Regions from separate parts of the Homo sapiens genome. Here all the other regions are linked to region 1. Evidence: promoter capture Hi-C in human tissues and cell types (Jung and others, 2019). All regions are on one chromosome and are shown on one strand. The core of a region is centred on a gene start or on the middle of the fragment in contact, and the rest is flanking DNA. Distances in the headings are between cores, read along the strand shown.

Region 1 (4,034 bases), core at 200-2,699:
CTTCCGGAGACGGCGCTCGGACGTCGCGGGTCACGGGCGGGGAATTTAGCCCAGGTGCTCGTTGGGCCGCGAGCGGCCGCTGGGCCTGGATTCCCAGGCTCGCTGTGCAGACTCCAACCTTGAGACGTCAGGACGGCGTGGGCTCCGGGCCGCCGCGCAAGCCCAGGACCCCGAGTCGCGGGCCCCCACGCCGCAGCGCGCCTCCCTCCTCGAGACCCGGGGCTCCGACCCAACACAGGGCTTCTCAAATGCCCCGGCGAGATCCAGGCAGCAAGAGGGAACCTTTTTTTTTTTTTTCAATGTGTAAGAATGTTTTGCTTCTTTTAGGGCACAGCACTGCTGCAACTTGCAGCACAGAGGGCCCTTCCCTGCGCACCCACAGCGGTCGCCGCCTCTCCGGCACGGTCTCCCGGATCTGGATTTGGGGAGCGCAAGTGCCCCCTGTGGCCGGCCCGCGCCTGACCCCGCGGGCCTGAGAAGGCAGAAGCGGCCGGTGCGGGGCACCAGGAGGAAGTTGGAGCCCGGGGGCCGGGAAGGGGGCTGGTTGGCGCCGCTGGCTGGGCGGGGCCCCATGGGACCGGGGCCACCCGGGGCTCGCGTTCCCCCACGTGGCCGGCTGCCCGGTACCCCACGTGGAAGGGGCGGAGGAGGATGAAGGGCCAGGGGAGCAGCGGACCCCGAGCCACCGCGACAGGACCTCGGCCCCTGCCACCGAGGCCCCCGCGCCTCCCGAGGGCCTCCCGGGCGGGGCCGGGCTAGGGAGTGCCCGCCGCGCCCGGCCCCTGGCCCTCCCGCCCGCCGCGCTTGTGTGCACTTTCGCGGAGCCACTAATCCCCCGAGAGAGCCGATTTGTAGTGAGGAGTATCTGAAGGGGGCGAGGCCGGCCCATGTGGGGTTGTGTCATTGGTTTGCAAAAAGAGACCCCGCCTTTGCCCCCCCCCCCCAAAAACAGGAGCGAGGAGTGAGCGAGCGGCGACCCTCACCTCGCCTCCCGCCTAGCTCCTGCGCAGCCAGCGGGTACCGGGAGCTGCGGCCAGCGCCGCTTCTTTCCTTTCCTTTTCTCTCCGTTTTCCTTCTCCTTCCCCGGAGGAGAAAACAAATAAAGAAGAGCAAATAGCCGGGAGGCGCTCGGCATCCAGGACGTTCCCTCCCCCGATCCAAGTTGGAATTAGCATCCTCTCGGGGGTGAGCGCGGCGCGGGGCGGGCCCGGGCCGGGGACCCCCAGCGCAGCCCCCTCTCGGCGGGCGGGAGGGCGCGGGGCCGGGACGCGGGGGGAATTGGGAACCGGGTGGGCGGAGGAAGGGGGTGGGGTGGGTGGGGAAGTAGGAAGAGGCTCGGCGGCGAGGGGAGGAGGTGGAAGGGAAGGGAGGGGTAGGGTGGGGAGGGGAGGGGAGCGGAGGGAGGGTGGGGAGGGCGGGAGGGGGAGGGGCGGGGAGCTGGAGAGATTAAGTTTTTGTGTGTGTGTCCCTGTGTGCGTGTGTCATTTTAAGGTGGCTCGGGAGCGGCCCGGAGGAGCCGGCGGCGGCCCGAGGAGCGAGGGACCGAACCGGGAGCCATGCCGCGCTGAGGGGGGGCCGCACAGCCGCCGCCACCGCCACCGCCGCCGGGTGGGGTGGGAGGGGCGGGAGACGCCGCCGCCGCCGCCTCCAGGGTGGGCGCCTTTCGCCGTGGACGCCGACCGTCCGGGACGAGGTAAGGGGGGCCCCGGGGGAGGGCTGGGGCCGCCGCCGCCCCCGCCTCACCTGCGGCCGCGGGCTGGGGGCGCCGCGCCCGCGCCTCACTGCGCCACTCAGGGAGGAGGAGGAGGAGGAGGAAGAGGGCGAAGGACGCGGAGCCGGCATCCGAGGACATCTTTGGTCCGTGCCCCCGGCCTCGTGTCCCCCCTCGGCGCCCGGGGGTGGACGCTGGCTCGGGGGTCCCCGCCCGCCCCCGCCACCGATTGCGCCCGCTGGCCGCCGTTTGCGCCAGGATTTTTGTTGTTGTGATGAGAGTTGATGAATGCGAAGTAGGCGGTCACCTTCCTTCCCATCAGGGTTGAAAAAAAAAAAAAAAGAAACCCCGAGCGCGGCGGCGTCCGGAGGGCAGCGGCGGCGGCGGCGGCGGCGTCTCGGCGACGGTTCCCTGGGCGCCCCCGGCTCCTGCTCCCTGAGCCCGGTGGGTGCGCGCCCGGGGGCCGCCGGCGACCCAGGCCGAGCGCGCGACGCGCCGCGGGGACAATACGGCCGGATCTCCGGGGAACAGGAGTCCGAGCGCGCCGGGGTGCGGCGGGCCTTGCGCCTACGAGGCGAGGGTGGGGGGGGCGCGGAGAAGAGGGGTTCCGTGGGGAAGTCGGGGCGTGAGCGGCTCTCGGTCCCCAGGGGCGCTGCCCCTGCCGGCGGGGGATCCCGCGCGGCTCCCCGGGAGCGCAAGTGAAAGACGGGAAAGGAGGCGAAGTGGAACCCTTTTGTTTTGCCGGCCCCGCATTGTTGGCTCCTCCGGGCAGCCGGGCCACATCTGCTGCCGCTGCCGCCGCCGCCACTGCCGCGCGGGGCTCGGCCCGCCAAAGTCGCGGCGGGGCGGGGGGCCTGGGCGGGCCGGGCGGCGGGCGCGGGCGGGGGCCGGGCGGGCCGGGCATTTCCTCTGCCCGGCCGCGCTCCCGCGGGCACCACTTCCTCCTCGCCCGCCGCCGCCGGGAGCCCGGCCCGCCCGCCTCCCCCACCTTCCCCGCCCGGGCCGCACTTTTCGGGTGGGGCGAATCAAAAAGAAAAAGTTTAGCAGGAGGGGCTGGCTAGGGCGCGCCCCGGGCGGCAGGGACCCGGTGCGGCGCAGGGACAGCCGGGCCGCCGCGGTTCCTCCTCCTCCCAGCCCTCCGCGGCGCCGGACGGCCCCGCGCGGCCGAGGGGAAGCGCCTTTCTTTCTCTCCCTCGCGCTGCCCCCAGCGCCCCGGGCGAGTTGGGCAGAGGCGCGCGGGAGCCGGGGCGTGCCTGGGCCTTTCTCCCGCGGGAGGCCCAGCGGCGTGGCGGGTCGCCTGCAGCCCACGCCGCGCCCTGGGGCTCGGAGGCCGCGGGCCCAAGAGCTCAGCTCGGTCACCGCGGGCCGCGCCGAGACACACACGCGCGCACACACTCCCTCCCGTGGCTCGCTTTCCGCCGGCGACGACGGTCGCGGACACGGAGTGAGCGTGTGCGCGCGAGTGTTTGTGGTTGTCCCCCCTCCCCCCGCCCGGTACTTTTTCCGGAGGCGGCCCAAGCGGCAGTTGGCTGCAGAGGACCCCACGTTTAGGATTTTATAGGGAAGAGGAGGAATTTTTCGTAGAAATCCCCGCTCTGCGTGCTCGTGGTGGAGGCTGCTGGCAATGGCCTACGTCGTCATACCGGGCTTCCTTGCCCTGTCCGGGGTAAACAATCCTTCTGTGTATTTACCCCCTTTTTTCTTTAAAGATTGGAGATCGGGTTAAGTTCTTAGAGAGTCTGATGCGAGTGGCTGGAAGGATAGACAAGAGAATTCTATTCTATAAATATGCATTGGGAATTTAAAATGCTAAACGCCTTATTTGCAATTCTGTTGGATATTCTAGAGACTGGTATATTTTTATCTGACATGGATAATTTTGAGGGGACGTTATATTTTGGGGAAGTTTACAAAGTGATTCTTTCTGCCTTTCTAACTTGGGCGAAATATATCGACTCATACCACCCTTTCAAAAAAGATAGCTTTCTCTACTAGGTGTTTGGGTTCGAAGACAGTTTAAAAATTACCTCGTGTTCAGTACCTAAGATTGCTGTTTTGCCTCGAGGGTTTTCCAAGTAGAAGTGGGTAGTTTTCATGTACTTTGAGAATTCTGAGGTTTTTAACCCCCCCCTTTTTTTTTAAATATAAATCTTTTCTATTTTGAAGTAATGAGACTTTAAAGGATCTTGTTTTTGTAATCACTTGATTTCAAAGGATACTTCTTACAGCAATTATAAAGTAATAGTCAAAATGCTAATTAGACATTTTCAGTCATAGCTGCTTTAATGTTGAAACAGAATTTTTTTCTTTAGCAGAGACTGTA
Region 2 (4,505 bases), core at 1,572-4,071, 570 kb before region 1:
GAACACTGATTCTAAAGGAAGAATTTAAATACCATAAGCTTGAGGAGGGGTATGATGTTAGTTCACCTGAGACGTAAGCTGACTGCTGGGTATCTGCCTCCTCCAAATATGGGCATGTTGGAGCCGACCAACATATGGATATCTTCAAATGTCCATAGAATATTCCGAACAAAATCATTTTTAAGACCCTGTGATTTAAAATAGGGAGGATTATAATAAACAGTCAATCTGTAATTTCCCCCCATGATCCATAAAAAGACTAGAAAAAGGAAGAGACAAAGAAGACAAAGTCAGGCCCCAGAGCTAAGATCACAAAGATGCTTAGAAAGCAGTTTCAGGATCAAGTGGAGTTTTTCCCTATCAATTTCGACTTAGGCTAGTTTTGAAATGACAAAGTAGACTGGGGATTTGCTGTCACCTTGGACACCATGGAAAGCATACCTGACTGTGCTCCCCGTCATTGAATAAAGTAATCAGGTTTTGTTCTTTGGGGGCTGAGGCCACATGCCCCACTATGTATGAGGGTTCAAGAGGCTCACTTCCCTGTGAAAAGTGCAAGGATAAGGAGTGATTCTGCTGTCAACATTTCTTAAAATTGACCCACTTTTGAGAGTATCACCTAAATATTCAAAGCACACACTTCAAATCTACCATTGTGAATTATTAGGCCAATACAAATAATAACACGCCTCATTGGGTGGCTTGCTTTGGCTAATGATCATAGCTACTATAAGAAGCGAATCACATTTAGATCTTACTCAAGAGAGATAGATTAAAGATTATTCTAAACTTTCTAAGTTTTTCATTTTTCTCTTTTTTGGTGCATCTGATTACCACTGCTCTTTCAGCCTACTCTATCTATATTGAATTTAAAAATTCCTAAGAAACTGGCCAGGCACGATGGCATGTGCTTGTAGTCCAAGCTATGTGGGAGGTCGACAGGGGAGAACTGCTTGAGCCCAGGAGTTCGAATCCAGCCTGGACAACATAATGAGAGTCTGTCTCTTAAAAAAAAGAAACCCTAAGAAATCTTACTCAGCCACAGTTTGAGATACTCATTATCTTAACAGTCTCCAGTTTAGCATTTCCTGATGAGTGTTTCACAGAACACTAGTTCCTGGGAAACTGAATGAAAATTTTCCAGAGTCAGGTTTGAAAGATGACGTTTACCAGGTACTCACTTTTGTGGAGTAACAATATTTATTGATATTAAAACAATAAATATATAATAAGTAATCCTGCAATAGAAAAATCTACTTTATCTTTGTAAAAACCAATGTTTCCCAAATGTATTTAATCTCAGAACACTTTTTGTTCTTAAGATATTCTCTGGAATACTTTTTTTTTTTTTTTTGAGACAGAGTTGCCCAGGCCAGAGTGCAGTGACATGATCTCAGCTCACTGCAACCTCCGCCTCCTGGGTTCAAGCAATTCTCCTACCTCAGCCTCCCGAGTAGCTGGGATTACAGGCACGTGCCACCATGCCCGGCTAATTTTTTTTTCTTTTTTTAAATAGAGATGGGGTTTCGCCATGTTGGCCAGGCTGGTCTCTAACTCCGGGCCTCAAGTGATCCACCCACCTCGGCCTCCCAAAGTGCTGGGATTACAGGCATAAGCCACTGCGCCCAGCCTGGAATGCATTTTGGAATACACTTGGGCCCTCTTGACACTGGGTAAACTCAGCCTACCACTCAATTTTCCAATCATTAGGAAAGTAGTACTGCCATTAAGAAATACTACTTTAAGCTTTTAATGTCATTGCCTCAACAGAACCCAAGACAGGCATGCGTGTGTTGCTTATTCCACAAACATCTGTCTTACTTGTCATCTGTGTGTGCCAGTAGGCTTGGCACCTGCTTGGGAAGAGTGTGTGACTATAAGCACAGGTGGCTCTCTAGCACTTCTATTGTGCCTTGTCCTCTCCCTCAGGAGTCCTAAGAGAACTTTAAACTCTTTTTTATTTTATTATTTGTTTACACAGACAAGTTATCAACTCATGAACCGATTCTCAAAACAGTTTGCCAGGCAGTTGCTTTAGTCAGAGTATGAGCTCTAGGTTACAACGTTCTCAATAAATGTCTGGCTCTAGGACCATCCCACAGTCACCTATTTAACCTCTATAACTGCTTAACAAAGGCCTCAAGCCAGCAGTTTTAGTTTTTGGAACAAGAATTTGTGCAGAGATAGCTTGCAAATATAAACAAATCTCTAAAGCTGAAATTTAAGCAATATAAGAAAAGTACTCTGTAAGAGACTCTTAAGGCAGGCTAGCTGTGCCTAGGGATACACCACTACTACGATGATCTGACTGTTAGTAGGGCCTTGCTGTGTGTGGAGTACACGGACACAGTGGAGTACTGCTGGAGGAACAGGCCTCTGCAGGCAGAAAGATCTGGGTTTAAGCCCTAGCCTGAGAGTTTCGCCAGCTGTATGACCATGTGAAACATCTTTTGATGAGCGTTAGTTTACTTATTTGTACAATACGCAGCTCCAAGAATGAAAAAAAAAACCTTGTACAAACATACACATGGCATAAGAGCTATTCAGTAAATGCCAGCTTGCTTCCTCAACACGCAAGTCTACAGATTCCCGACTCTCCAAGAGTTTTCACAGTAATTCCTAAACAAGGTAAAGACAGAACAACACTGGGAGATGGGTGACATGGGTAATAGGAGGGTAGTATTTGTATTATGTAGTCTTTTCTCCCTTCTGAATCATAGAACATCCCTACTTCTTGGTTGTTACCACTATGTGACTTGCATATTAATTACTTCCTTTTCCTTACATTTTTCTCACTTTTGAAAGAAATTTAAATTCATTATGGAGTTTTATGGGATGCTTTCTCTATCTTAAACCTACTGAAACTAAAATCGAGTTAAATGTATCTGCTCCCTGTAATTTGTGAAGATTGAAACAATCTGGTTGAATAGTGCTCAATATGTGGGAACACAACAGCAAGAGGGAAGACGTAACTTATCAAGTCACAGATCTTATTATCTATTTATCAATCTATTTTCCTGAAAATAGACATGTCACAATTTACATCTATGGCTTTATTTTATTCTTTGATAGATACAGTAAGTACAAAAATAAACAAGCATTAGGAAGAAACAAGGATGTAAGAGATAAAATGGACAACCTAGTTCATTCTCTTTTCTAAAACTTTTATAACATGAATGTGGACTAAGTTTCAGGAATTTTATCTGGAAAACCTTAAAGGGATATTTTAGGTCTAACAATCTGACTGAAAGTTATGGTAAAAAGGTTAGAACTTAAATTACAAATGGGTCTCTGAGTCTCAATATTTGGTAGGAAATGTCTATCAAATATTGACAGATATTTATAGTTAAAATAGTATTTATAGTTAAAAATGACTAGTATTTATAATTAAAATATACTATATCTCTATATAATACTCATCACTTGAAGGAGATAATCAGTATTAATAAACATATCAGTCAACTATTATATTTCGATTTAATAAAAAAATCTGATCTCCCCACCTATAATAGCTCTTGTAAATTCTATTGCGAAAAACTAAAAAGTATTTCTCCAATTCCATAAATTGACAGAAGTCTTTTTTCCCCCATTCCATAAGCTGACAGAATATTTCTTAGTCCTGTTCATCTTTTTTTTTTTTTAACGAGATGTTAAAAAAGGCTTTGTTTTCCTATGTGAGTTTCTAGAATTAGCATTTAAGTACTAACCTGACTGGAAGCACTGGGATCTTCAGAAACTGAAGAAGGCATTTCGAAGGGAGCAGGCCATGAAGCCCCTTCCGAATCATTTGTCTGATCTGAACTGGACGATTCCTGCTGTTCTGCGGTGGATGAGACAGGCTGAGCGGCTCCATCACCATTGATACTGGCCAAACCAGAAATAAAAAAGGATTGCTGTTACTAAAGTTAACTTCATGCAACAGTCTACCCGTTTATAAAAACTACAATCTGTAATTAAGCATACATCTTGTAAAAAAGAAATATGAAACAAATGTTAACAGTATCACAGGGGCAAAACTTAAATTATAACTTCATTAAGCTTCACACTAAATTTTAGATCAGAATTCCCTTTTTCTCTTTAGAGATAAATAAGTAGCCAAGTACCTGTAATATAAAAACTTGGAAAGAATTGCCTTTTGATACCAGTGCTCTTTGCTCTTTTTCTTCCTCTGCCACTTCTGATCAATGAGTCTTTGATAAAACTCTTTCAACCATGTCCAGTCACCAGTCTGGATAACATGAGATACATATTATTAATACAACACACATAGTCGAAACAATGTTACCTAGTACTAGCTTACAGAAAAGGCTCCTATTATTTTTTGAATAGTTTCATAAACACATACTCATTAAAAACATATCTTTCTGGGTCAATTCATACCACCTTTCTTTTGTTTTTTGTTTCCTAAAGGAAACCCGTCTTCCTCCTCCTAAGCCAGGCTGGGAGAGGTGAGTCTTCTCTATAACATGTTCCTTAGCAGCTGCAGTAGTTCCCACTTTGCACAC
Region 3 (4,125 bases), core at 1,228-3,727, 630 kb after region 1:
ACACTCTGTCCGGGTGACACTGACTGCCACAAGGTCATCGGAAGTAAGGGAAGCCTCCAGGCTGTGCTTGGGCAGACGCTCTCCCCTCCCCATCCGAGGACACAAACTTTTGGGTGACATGGTCCATCCAACCCCCCACGCCCCTGCCGCCCCCAACTCTGCACAAAGTGAAGGCAGGAAGCCGCTCTGGGGGGTGCATTTTGCAAATCAGAGCACATGGTCCCTGGGCGAGTTTTCCAAGCCAAGCAGTCTCCCTCAATGGTCTCAGTTTATGGCCCTGTGGTTCTATCCAGAAGTGTTGGCCTGGCTGAATCTGCCCTCAGGAATATCTCAGATGCCTGCAGAGGCCAGGCTGACAACCCCAGGCCGTGATGCACCCAGCATTCCACTCCCATTGCTTCCCTGAACTACCTCCTGCAGCCATGTATTAATGGAGCTCCTGTAATAAAGGTGCTGAGGATACCTGGGAAGTAAGTCCAAAATAAGTCCATTTTACAGATGAGAAAACTGAGGCTCAGTGGTCTTCCTGCCAGCAAGCAGTGGGGCAAAGATTTGAGCCTGGGCTTCTTCTCATTTCCAAAGTACAAGTCCCAGCCCAGTCGAGCACCTGAACATCCCAGAATGCCCCTTCCTCGGGACACTTTGCCACCACATAGCTAATCTTCCATAGGGGCCATAGGGACAGTTGGGACAGACATGCTGGCACTGTCCTGCTACACCCTTACCAGCTGGGTGATGCTGGGTGAGTCTGCAGCTTCCCTGGAAAACAGAGAAGACTTTCTATGCCTACCCAAGAGGCTTGGAAGAGAACCACAAATGCAGAAATGGCCTGGGAAGCTGAAAAGGTTTCTCCCAATAGGGAGGATTGTTGTTATTCAGTTTAACAAACGCAGAGTGTCCACCACAGGCAAGGTCAGGGACTTGGCTCTACATGGGATAGAGCGATAAGCAGATGGAGAGAGAATGAGGAAGCCAGGCTTCTCCCTGCTGTGGAAGGAAGGCATGAACGTGTAAAGGCATGAGGTGAGAAGGAACCCTGTGCTGCTGGACTGGAATCGGAGGCACTGCTGTGAGCTCGGGCTTTTGGGCAGGTCCAGGTGGGTAGGGTAAGCATGGACGCATGTGTGTGTCACACCTGCATACCATGCGCATCTTTCCTACCTCTGTCCACCGCCAGGGCCTGAGCAGCAATGCCCAGAGACAACACAAGCACACCTGGGGCCCTGGGCTGAGATTCTAAACAGTGCCCTCCACTGGAAGGAACTGGGGCTCCTTGGAGAAATGGCCGATTCCAGGGCTGAAGCAAAGACTGAACAAATGAACCTGAAACATCTTTTTGGGCCAAAATGCAAGGAAGGGCTCAAAGAACGGTGAGGATGTGCCGAAAGGTCACAGGGCCAGCCTGAAGGGGCTGCCAGTGCCTGCGTCGGGGACCATCTGAATATCCCAGTGATGACGGTTAACAGACGATAACCCACTGAATTACATAGGAAGCCACGAGCCCACACTGGCATACATCAATCAGTGGAAAGAAGAGAACATCTTTCCTTAAAGTAAAACACCAGGAGTAAATACAAGGAAGAATGATGGAGTTATTTGGCGACCATCATAGAAATCATTCATTCAAACAAGAAATACTAAGGGACACTAAAACTGGCAGATGAAAGTGGGACATCGCATCACCTCAAAGCATCTCCCCACAAATACGTATCAATCACAAAGGGGAAAAACACATTATGTGGTTGCCATTAAACAAGAGGTCAAGGTTAACATCAGCAATATTTGGGCAAACCAACATTACATGCCTATGAGAACAAGCACAGCACCACTTCTAAGCAATGCTAGCCCCAAACGCGTAACTTGGGTTGTATCATGAGAAAACACCACACAAAATGACTGTCTCGTAATCTTCAAAACTGGCAATCTGTGAGAACTGAGGCGAGGACAGGGAAGTGCTCCAGGACGGAGTCCAGAGAGACCAGAGAGAGCTGCCTGGCCCCGGACTGGGTCTTCCCCTCTCTAGAGGAGTTCATGGAATGATTGGCAAAGCTTGAATGGGGTCTGTCTCTGGGAGAAGGGTGTATGGAATTTCTTTCTATTCTGGAAATCTGAAAAATTATTTGAAAATGAGAAGGCTGCGGGAACTCCAGGGAGTGCCAGGTAATTCTTCTGGAGGTGAGACTGTGTTTTGGGTACAACAGAAACGAGCTTGACATGGCAGCCAGCCCACACCCCAGCTTGCACGGGATTAGCACATGACCTTGAGACGGGGTGTGGGGTTGGAGGGCAGCGGATCCCTCAGGCCCTTGCAATTGGGAGGACTCTGGAATTCCATCACCAGGGAAGGCCTTGAGGATATGGCAGGATCCAGGCAGGCCAAAGAAGAGGTGGTGGGACAGGTGAAGGGCGCAGACAGCATGCATAAAGGCTCCAGGTGGGACTGGCAGGAGGGGAGCTTGGCGGGTGGGCGTGTCCTCATCCCAGGGACCTGGCCTCTCCAAACTCGCAGGGAACACTGGGAGGCCCCCAATGCCCAGAGCGTGTTCTTAGGCCTCTCTCTGACAAGGTGCCAGGGAGACAAGAAGGACGGGCTGGTGAGGCTGATGAGGCTACCTTGGCCGCTCTGCCTGCTTCAGGCCCAGGGAATCCAGGGCTGCAGGAGACTCTGATGGTGGCCCTCGGCCCTGTGCGCTGTGGTGTTCTCCATGCTCATCGTCTGCACCCGTGAAGGGTGGCAGAGGAGAGGGTCAGTGTCCTGAGGAATGGGCAGGCTTGTGGAAGCCTGGCTAAAGCAAGCCCGTGGTTCTTGGAGCTGGGGCCCCAGGGCCCCGAGAGGCAGAGGGCACACAGGGCATGGGGGTGGTGCGGCATCTGGGAGGGAATGAGTGGGGTGTGAGCAGGCCCACATGTGTGGCCTGGGGCGTGGGGGGGTCTGGGCGTGAGTGTATGTATATGTGTGTGTGTGTGTGTGTGTGCATGCACTATGAGGCCAGCATGAGAGTGGGCACCTGTGGATGTGTGGCCTGGGCCTGAGAACCTGTGGGGCCTGGCGTGCGCACATGTGGATGCGGGATCGTGTGGGTATGGGGGCCCCTCGTGAGCACACGTGGGCCCGGGTGAGTGTATGTAGCTGTGCGTGCATCGGCCCTGGCTCCAGCAGGCCCGGCCTGTCCCATCCCTGGCAGCAAGGCGCCCTCTTGTGGCCCGAGCAGGTGGCGTGGGGAGGAGGAAATGAGAGTGAACCCTGAGAGGTCCACCAGGCTGGGACGCAGGAGGGGTGGGGCGGGAGGCAGGAGGCGGCAGGCAGGATGCCAGGTGGGCATGCAAGAAGGCCGGATGCACACTGCCCTGGGGGCCTGGGGATCCTTGCTGGCCCCTGCCCACCGCTCCTGGCTTCACCAGGTTCCTCCCTCCCCGCATTGGGGTGTCCTCTCTGATGCAGGGCAGACGGGCTTGGACGGCCTCATGGGATGCATGCGGGTGGCCTGGGCCCTGTGGCAAGGCACCTCTCCAGCCGCCCCCACTTGGGACCACACTGCCAAAGACCAGCATGCCATGTCTGCCCCTCACACCGCATCTGCAGGGCTGATTCCCCACACCCCTTCCCCGCTGGGGCAGCTGGGATCCTGCCCTCCCACAGGCAAAGAGAGTGCGTGGGTGCATGTGCGCATGTGTGTGTGTGTGTGTGTGCGTGTGTGTGTGTGTGTATGTGCATGAGCTGGTGTCTAGGACCCGCATGTGAGTGTGGGATGAAATGAGGCCATCTCTGCATGGCTCCAGGGAGAGGGGATGCTGGGACAGAGTGCAGGGCGTGGCCCCTCGTCCTCCCCCTCACGGATGGCTGTGGCCCAGGATGTTGAGTCTACAGTCATGGAGCCCCTGGCCCTCAGCTCCTGGATTAAACCCTTGGAAAGTGTAGAGCACTCCTCTGCACAAATTTTTGCTCAGTAATGAGGACAGACATGGGGGATGCCACAGTCGGAGAGCAGCCTCAGTGCCACTGACAGGGCTGGCTGGGAGGTTCCTCACCAGGAGGCCTATTTTCAGCAACTTTCACTCACCCATGAGAAGGGGGAGCCCTGGTCAGGTGGGAGCTGTGTGGGCTGCTCGTGAGTGGTGGGTGCA

The links. The method cuts DNA at HindIII sites, captures the fragments that hold promoters and counts their contacts. A contact is called where the count stands out against the background at its distance.
Region 2: a contact is called between a fragment that was not itself captured here and the fragment with the promoter of CTBP2 in region 1, in 1 of the 25 tissues and cell types used here (hippocampus).
Region 3: a fragment that was not itself captured here is called in contact with the fragment with the promoter of CTBP2 in region 1 in 1 of the 25 tissues and cell types used here (adrenal gland).

Annotation. Positions count from the first base shown.
Region 1 is chr10:125,157,978-125,162,011 of GRCh38, reverse strand. CTBP2 (C-terminal binding protein 2) reads left to right here and starts at 1,449. Exons shown (of 11, transcript NM_001329.4): 1 at 1,449-1,693. RefSeq lists an enhancer at 69-678. The HindIII fragment of the contact is 19,174 bases long and covers 1-4,034 here.
Region 2 is chr10:125,725,041-125,729,545 of GRCh38, reverse strand. EDRF1 (erythroid differentiation regulatory factor 1) reads right to left here. Exons shown (of 25, transcript NM_001202438.2): 5 at 4,104-4,228; 6 at 3,708-3,864; 7 at 442-543; 8 at 67-188. Among named protein-coding and RNA genes, the nearest start is that of EDRF1, 7.6 kb to the right of the region's middle. The HindIII fragment of the contact is 3,858 bases long and covers 893-4,505 here.
Region 3 is chr10:124,529,379-124,533,503 of GRCh38, reverse strand. All of the region lies in intron 6 of LHPP (phospholysine phosphohistidine inorganic pyrophosphate phosphatase), which reads right to left. Among named protein-coding and RNA genes, the nearest start is that of LHPP, 70 kb to the right of the region's middle. RefSeq lists an enhancer at 1-411 and a silencer at 3,288-3,407. The HindIII fragment of the contact is 8,411 bases long and covers 1-4,125 here.